3 separate regions of the Homo sapiens genome follow, and regions 1 and 2 are each linked to region 3. The links are contacts of gene promoters, found by promoter capture Hi-C in blood cells and fetal thymus (Javierre and others, 2016). All regions are on one chromosome and are shown on one strand. Each heading gives the region's core, a stretch centred on a gene start or on the middle of the fragment in contact. The rest is flanking DNA. Distances are from core to core; before and after follow the strand shown. Region 1 overlaps NIBAN1 (niban apoptosis regulator 1). Region 2 overlaps SWT1 (SWT1 RNA endoribonuclease homolog). Region 3 holds the start of RNF2 (ring finger protein 2).

The links. The method cuts DNA at HindIII sites, captures the fragments that hold promoters and counts their contacts. A CHiCAGO score of 5 or more calls a contact.
Region 1: a contact is called between a fragment that was not itself captured here and the fragment with the promoter of RNF2 in region 3, in 10 of 17 cell types (M2 macrophages, megakaryocytes, total CD8 T cells and 7 more). The highest score is 7.0, in M2 macrophages.
Region 2: a contact is called between a fragment that was not itself captured here and the fragment with the promoter of RNF2 in region 3, in 3 of 17 cell types (megakaryocytes, erythroblasts and fetal thymus). The highest score is 8.3, in megakaryocytes.

What each region holds. Positions count from the first base shown.
Region 1 is chr1:184,809,197-184,811,896 of GRCh38, forward strand. All of the region lies in intron 9 of NIBAN1 (niban apoptosis regulator 1), which reads right to left. It also overlaps a transcript of LOC107985238 not described here. Among named protein-coding and RNA genes, the nearest start is that of EDEM3, 56 kb to the left of the region's middle. The HindIII fragment of the contact is 3,316 bases long and covers 1-2,700 here.
Region 2 is chr1:185,172,415-185,175,114 of GRCh38, forward strand. It overlaps SWT1 (SWT1 RNA endoribonuclease homolog), which reads left to right. Exons shown (of 19, transcript NM_017673.7): 5 at 1,958-2,699. Among named protein-coding and RNA genes, the nearest start is that of SWT1, 17 kb to the left of the region's middle. The HindIII fragment of the contact is 1,045 bases long and covers 814-1,858 here.
Region 3 is chr1:185,044,292-185,046,991 of GRCh38, forward strand. RNF2 (ring finger protein 2) reads left to right here and starts at 1,267. Exons shown (of 7, transcript NM_007212.4): 1 at 1,267-1,358. RefSeq lists a silencer at 897-1,156. The HindIII fragment of the contact is 4,610 bases long and covers 1-2,700 here.

The DNA.
Region 1 (2,700 bases), core at 169-2,668, 230 kb before region 3:
TCATTATGCTTTAAAGGGAAAATACTGCTCCCTTTATGAAGTGAGTTATGGAGAGGTCCACTGAAGTGAAGTAAGGATCAAAAGCATGCTGTGGAACTTGCAGCTCCTCACCAAATGGAATGTGTCTATTTTTAAAAAATATCAATTAAGCAGACAGAAGAGGAAAAATGGGTTCCCACTTTGCTCCTATCAGATTGGCAAAAGTTTAATCAAATGATAACACCTATAGCTGATAGCAGTATGGGGGAGAAAGCCCTTATCATACACAATTAGTGGAAATGTAAAATTTAAATCCTTTTTTTTGAAATGCAATGGAAACATTTTTTAACATGAGAAATGTACTTTCAACCTGGCTATCTTGTCTTAGGAGAATATACTATAGAAATAAATACATCAGGGTATATGTGTGTGTATATATATATATACACATATATATGTGTGTGTGTATATATATATACACATATATATGTGTGTGTGTATATATATATACATATATATGTGTATACATAAAAATATTAATTTATTATGCTTTATTCATAATGCCAGCAATATTGAGATGAATGAATAAATCATGGTGTATCCATACATGAAACATCATGCAGCCATTACAAAGAAAGATTTAGAGCTAAAACAGTTACCTTGGAAACAGTTTCATGGGGTATTTTTGGAAGAGAAACTGATAAGCAGAGTAATGTATAAAATATAATCCCATTTTTCTTAAAGCAGACAATCTAAAGTCTAGCCTCTAAGGGTGTGTTTTATGTGCTAGATAAGAATGGGGAAAATACAGAATGGCATATGCTAAGTTGTTAACACGAGTTGCTTGAGGGGAGGAGGTGGCATTGGGGAAGGGGAAGAGTGAAGACAAGTAAAACAAAACAGGCTGCAATAAGAAACCCCAAAACATTTCTAAAATGATCCTGTTAATGCACAATTATATATGTGTATATATGCATAAAGAATAAAGGAAAAGAAATAGAGACATCTGGTTTTATCTACTGACTTGTAAGGATGTTCATCATGATATGTCAAGTATAAAACCAAGCTGCCAATTTATATCTTTTTCAGTGATTCTTAAACTGTAGGGTACACCAGAACCTCTGGAGGTCTTGTTAAAACAGACTCCTGGGCACTACCCCTAGATTTTCTGATTTAGTAGATCATTGGTGGGGCCCGAGAATTTGCATTTTTAACAACCAGGTGATGATGACACTGCTGGTCTGGGGACCATACTTTCAGAAATATTGATCTGTTAAAGCAAACTAAATACAGCCTGAGAAGGACTCCATACTTCCATATTTTAGTCCTTGTGGATGAACTGTAAGAGTCAGATAAAATTGAAAACCTAACTTAGTAGTATGCACCTGTAACAATAACTGAGTGTTGACCAGTCCCAGCAGCCATACTTCAACTACTCATAGACTGCTAAATGTTCAAATAAGGCAAATGCTGAGTTGTAACCAGTCTCACTATTTCTGTTCCTCACTTCTGATTCCTGTACGTCACCTTACCTTTTTTGTCTGTAAATTTATTCTGACTGTGAGGCACCCCCGGAGAATTTGTGAATCTGCTGTGATTCTAGGGACTGCCCGATTTGCGAATCATTCATTGCTCAGGTAAACTCCTTTAAATTTAATTTGGCTGAAGTTTTTCTTTTATCAGATGGTGTCAGAAGCAGGATCCGAAGTGGAGCTTCTAGTGACTCCCAGGAGCGCTGAGTGAACACACAAGGTACCTGCAGGTCCCACCTGTGTCCATTGATCTCTCAGAGCGGCTGGGGATCGCGGTAAGCTCCCTCTCGGAATTTGAAGCTCCATAGATTTGTGTTTTGAGCTCTCTGAGTTTCTTCGAGCAAGTTTCTGATCCAAACTGGGTTTGTAGTCATGACAGAAACTGGACTGGGTCCAGGAACAGATTTGATCCAGGAATTAACTGGCTTGGACCCAGTCAGAGGCCTCGTATATCTGACTGGGTCAGAAAGGAACTGGTAGTAAGCAGTAATATTGCAGGGGTTATAAAATTTGGCTTTTGAAAATTCACAGGGATTTCTGTGTTCTACCCCTTTTTTCATTTTTCTTGTGTGCTTAGGTAGGAAAAATCATTGGCTAAGTTAAGAGAACCTGGGAGTAAAGCCAATATTTTAGGTTAAAATGGGCTCCTTAATTTCTGGAAAACTGAGTTCCTTCTGGCTTATACATTAGGCCTGGGAGGCAGTGAAGTCTTACAGAAACAGCAAAATCTTACTGAAGATAATTTACAGTGGAATGTTCCGAAAGAACAACAATGCATTGAGGTACTTTCTTCCTTTTTTTTTTTGTTTTTTTTTTTGAGACGGAGTCTCACTCTGTCTCCCAACTAGAGTGCAGGCGCGATCTTGGCTCACTGAAAGTTCCACCTCCTGGGTTCATGCCATTCTCTTGCCTCAGCTGGGACTACAGGCACCCCGCCACCACGCCCGGCTAATTTTTGGTATTTTTAGTAGAGACAGGGTTTCACCATGTTAGCCAGGATGGTCTCGATTTCCCGACCTCACGATCCGCCCGCCTCGGCCTCCCAAAGTGCCAGGATTACAGGCCTGAGCCACTGCGCCCGGCTGCATTGAAGTACATTTTTAAAATGAGGGCTCTCAGTAAAGTCCCTTTTGGCTAGGAACGGTTTTGGCACTACAGGATGTCAACTGCTATTCCCTTTGGAATAATC
Region 2 (2,700 bases), core at 86-2,585, 130 kb after region 3:
TGTGATATTCCGTCATATGAATATGTCACTTTTTAAAGTCATTTCCAAAATTTTAGCAGTTACTTTGTACCTGATTGTTTTGCTATTATAAGTAATCCTGAATTAAATATCTTTTAATATTTTTTTCATGTGTGATTTTCTTCACCTTGGTATGGTTTCTAAAATGAGAATTTCAGATGTAAAAAAATGACCATTTTTAGAGTTTTTAATTTATATTCACATTTCTTTGTGGGACTGTTATGTTGTTTTACATTTCTACCAGCAACATGTGAGAGTGTCCATTTTACAACCCCTTGCGAGTATTTGATGTTATTGTAAAATCTTTGCTAATTTGATAGAAGAAAATGGTATGGGCCAGCTGCGGTGGCTCACACCTGTAATCCCAGCACTTTGGGAGGCCGAGGTGGGCAGATCACGAGGTCAAATCGAGACCATCCTGGCCAACATGATGAAACCCCGTCTCTACTAAAATACAAAAAACTAGCCGGGCGTGGTGGTGTGTGCCTGTAGTCCCAGCTACTTGGGAGGCTGAGGCAGGGGAATCGCTTGAACCTGGGAGGCGGAGGTTGTGGTGAGCCAAGATTGCACCACTGCAGTCCAGCCTGGCGACAAAGCGAGACTCCGTCTCAAAAAAAAAAAAAAAAAAAGAAGAAAATGGTATGTTATTGTTATTATTAGCATGTCTGTGATTGCTAGAGAAGTCAAACTTTTTAAAAATGTTTATTAGCTGTTTTCTTTTATTAATTTTCTGTTTATGCCCTATTCTAGAATCTTAGTAGTTTTTGGTGAGCTTTTTATCTACTAAGGCTAGTAAGCTTATTAACATTATTTTGCTAGAAGTTAGTACATCTAACAAATACCATTTCCTAGTTCTTTAAATTTTTATTAATTTTTAATACGCTAAAGTTTTAAAGTAAATAGTCACATATTATCAGTGTTATCCTTTGTTATTTCTCCCACTGTTTTTAAGTTTGGGAAGTTCTCTATTAAGAAATCAGGTTGGGCGTAGTGGCTCATGCCTGTAGCCTCAGCACACTGGGGAGGCTAAGGTGGGCAGATTGCTTGAGCCCAGGAGTTCGACCAGCCTGGGCAACATGGTGAAACCCTGTCTCTACCAAAAAAAAAAAAAAAAAAAAATACAAAAATTAGCCAGATGTGGTAGTGTGCATCTGTAGTGCCAGCTACTCAGGAGGCTGAGGCAGGAGGATCTCTTGAGCCTGATATGTTGAGTTTGGAGTGAGCCAAGATCGCGCCACTGCACTCCAGCCTGGTGACAAAGTGAGGCGCTGTCTCAAAAAAAGAAAAAGAGAAATCGGATAGGCCGGGGTACAGTGGCTCACACCTGTAATCCCAGCACCTTGGGAGGCCGAGGCAAGTGGATTGCTTGAGCCCAGGAGTTTGAGACCAGCCTGGGCAACATAGCAAAACCTTGTCACTACAAAAAAATTACAAAAATTAGCTAGGCATTGTGGCATGCTCCTGTAGTCCCAGTTACGTGGTAGTCTGGGAGGTAGAAGGATTTCCTGAGCCTGGGAGGTTGAAGCTGCAGTGAGCCATGTTTGCATCACTGCACTCTAGCCTAGGCAACAGAGTGAGAACCCGTCTCAAAAAAAATGAAATCACACATACGTTCTGTTTTTCCTCACTGGTTTTTAAGGGTTTAATATGAAGCACAAAATTATTATGATAATAATAATTATTTTACACTTAAGCATTTAGTCCATTTGGAATTTATGTTGTTTGTTACTATTTAAAGTTGTAATTTTTTTTTCCAAATAGCAAACTAATTATTCTAACACCATTAAGTGAGTAATCCTTTCCACTTCATTCTTAATGTAGCTATTTCTACTTTTTATGAAGCTTAATGTCAGCCCAATTCTGTTATTCTAACTAAAATGATAGAGTGCAACATTATGTATAATTATAATGTAACCTAGGTTTCTGTGCTGTTTTACAGATTGAGTGTAGAAATTGACACTCTCAGAAGGAGACCAAAAATCGGTTCTTCATCCCAAAGACCTATTAAACTCAAAGAAGCATCATATTCAAATGATAATCAAATTATTTTGCAGAGTCCTTCTTCAAATGGAACTAAAAAAGACATACATAAATGTGTAGACTTTAAACCTAAAGATATCAAATTGACAAATGCTGGGAGCAAGCTTGACCATGGAATTAAAAGCCTTAGTAGTCCTAAGATTGCCAGTGATGTGAAACCTAAAGCCGAAGGCCAGGCAAGTGAAAATAAATGGTCTCATTTACTTGTTCAGAGAGAGAAGATGAAAGAACTCAAGAAAGGAAGAAACAGTAAATTTAGAGACAATTCTGAAAAATGTGTCTTAGAGAAATGGAAGAGAAATCAATTTTCTCAGGATTATAACTCCAACAAGATAATTAAGGAACCCTTGGGATCTAGAAGACAGAAGATCAGTTTCAAAATCCCTATAAAATCCCGTGACACCCTCCAGAAACTTGTAGAAGAAAATGTCTTCAACATAGATTCTAATAATTCGAAGACTAAGCAGGAAGAAAGAGAATACCTGGAAAGCTCCCAGGTTTCATTAAATGTGACTAGGCAGAAAACTGAACATTTACTTTCAGATTTTACATATAAGCGGACTGTTCATGAGTGGAAACGAAAACATCATTATGACCATCAAGAAAGTAATGATTCACATTCTAGGGAAAACCTAACCCAGG
Region 3 (2,700 bases), core at 17-2,516:
GCTGTATTTAACACCTGTCCTTTTTCTTTCCACCCATCCAAGGCGTCAAAGGCCATCTTAAATCCCGGCTCCTCAGGAAATCATCCCCAAACACACCAGCTGGAATTGATATTTTTCTTTTCCAAATTCCTATGTAAATTCATGTCATTTATTTGGAATTGCTTATAGAGAGTTTCAGAGCGTTAAAGAACTGGAAAGGACCTAGGATTCAATACAATTCTCTCATCTCGCAGACGAAGAAAATGAAGTGCAGAGGAGCTACGCAATCTACGTAAGTCACATAGACACACATTGGAGGCTATGAACCTAGTTTGCCCAATTCCCACTGCAGTCCATTGGTTTATGCCTCTATGCCTTCAGATTTACGGTCTGGTATTGCTGGTTATCTTCTCAAGAGAACATGACATCTCAACAATAGTACATATAGAGATCAGGGAACTTTCAATTCTTCGTTACTTCTTCAGCTCATAATTTATATGCATTAAATGTCGGATAATTTACTGGAGACTAACTGGCTGTGTTTTAGGTAATGATTACATCTATTAATCTATTACTTCGTAAATCCTCAAGTTCAGAAGGTAACACTGGAAGGGGCCAAGGAGGTAGGAATAAAGCAGCAGCAAGGTAAATAGTAAGAGCTGATGACCACAATCAGAATGTTAAGCTAAGTTTAGAGTGGAAGGTCATTTTCCCAGGAGCAATTACACTTGCAGTTTTATCCTGCAAGGATGAAAAGTGTATGTTTGTTGTACGAGAGCGGAAGGGTGCCGAAGTTCATGTGAAGTTCTGCAAACCAAAGCCTGATGAGGATTTCCGCCGGGTGGGACAGGTTTAAGAGGACGAACTCATGAGAAAGAAGTCTGAGCCCAAACCCCAGAAGCCGGCCAGGAAGGTGTAAAGGGTGGGCCGAAGCCAGGGCAGAAGAACCCAAGCAGAAGGTTGAGCACGAGGTGGCTGCGCCGTCATCCGGGCGTTGCCCGGGGGCTACGTCGGACCGCGGTGGGCGCCGGGGGGGCGTGGCCGGCCAGCCCAGGGCGGGGCGGTGGCGCGGGTTCTCCAGGCCAACACGCGGCGGCGCACCCTCCCTCGCGCCGCGGGCCTCCCCGCGCCGTGCACGTCCTCGTCCCGCGCCTCCGCCCCTCGCTCGCTCGCTCCTTCCCGCCCTCCCCGCAGCGCCGGCCGAGCCGGCTTCCCCTCAGTCTCTCATGAATATTGAGCGGCCCCTGTTGTATTTCCCGAGCTCCATTGCGGAAGCTGAGGCTCGCCATATTGTGCGGCGGCGCCGGCGTCCGCGGCAGCTGATACCAGAGTCTTGCTCCGGCCGCGGCCAGCGGAGCCCTGGGCTGGGGCAGGAGCCGGTGAGTGGGGCGGGCGGGGAGGCGAAGGACGCGGAAGCAGCGGGCCGGGACACGCGTCTACTCGGCAGCGTTGCAGGCGACTGACGGGGGCCCCGGAGTGTGGGGGGGGTGTGTGTCCGCGGGGGTGTGAAGGGACATGGCGCCGCCGCCGCCCCCGGCCGCTCTCGCGGCGGAGACGGCGGGTGAAGCGGGTTCTCATTGTTCCCGTGTCTTCGAGGGTCGTGGGAGGGAAGGGAGCTGGTTTGCGGAGGACCCAGTCAGCGAAGCGCCGGGATTCCTTCCTTCGCCGCGAGCCTTTCGCTGCCCTTTCCTCTGCGCGGAGGCCGGCGCTGCGGCGCGGTCCCCTCGCCTCCGGGGGCGGGGGCCCCAGCCTCTCTGCAGCCCTACTCCGGAGGCGGACGGAGTGGAATGCGAGTTTTTTCTCTGGGCTTTCGCCTCGCAGCTAGGGATGTGTGTCTGCATCGTGGGGGTGGGGTAGGGGGCACTTTGTGCAGATATCGCTCCTTCCTTCTGGGGGGTCGGAGTCGGGGTTCCAGTGTAGAGGAGCTCCTCGACCTCGGGGTTCCTCGGGGAGACCCCTTCAGCTTCACACATTCCTGGAGTGCCGCCTCCTGCTCTGGAGTATCTGTTGCTGCTTTCTAAAACCGTGAGCTTACCCAGGAGGAGTCGTGGGGGGAGGGGGTGTCTTGGTTAGTTTCTGCGGGAAGATTCGCGTTTTGAACCGTGTCGTTTACGCTGAGATGCTAGTACCCACTTTTGCCGGGAGCCCACGTCCTGCTGGTCAGAATCGTTTACCTTCTACAGAAGTCTCCTTCTTGCTTTCAGAGATGGTGTTAGTAAAAATTGATCTCAAACTTTGAGGTTCATTCCAGTTATTTGCCCGCTAAGATCAATTATAGACTCATCTATTTGAAGCCCCTTTGGGTATCTTTTTCGAGGCTGTCGGAAGTTTTAGAGAATGTAACTTTACATTGTAAAATGATTTGAAGATGTCAGGTTTCTTTGAAGTGCCGTGAAAAGGATATACATATGCACTCAGTATTTTAGTAATACGCTGTTTTTCAATTAAAAAAATTAAGGCATGGTTTCAGTGTTCTAAACCGAGGATATGTTTAAAACGAATGTACGAGCGATTTGCATTACATAATCTACTTTTGGTAATTCCAAGATGATCAGCTGGAATACTTAGTCTAATTGGTAGCTAATCTATCTGTTTTGTATTAAGTGCAGTTGTTGAATATTCTAATAACTGAGGTGGGTGTGAGAGTTTGCTTCTTATAGTGAAATTTGATCCTTGGATTTATAAAGTATTTAAATAGCAGCAATATGACTCTTGGTTATT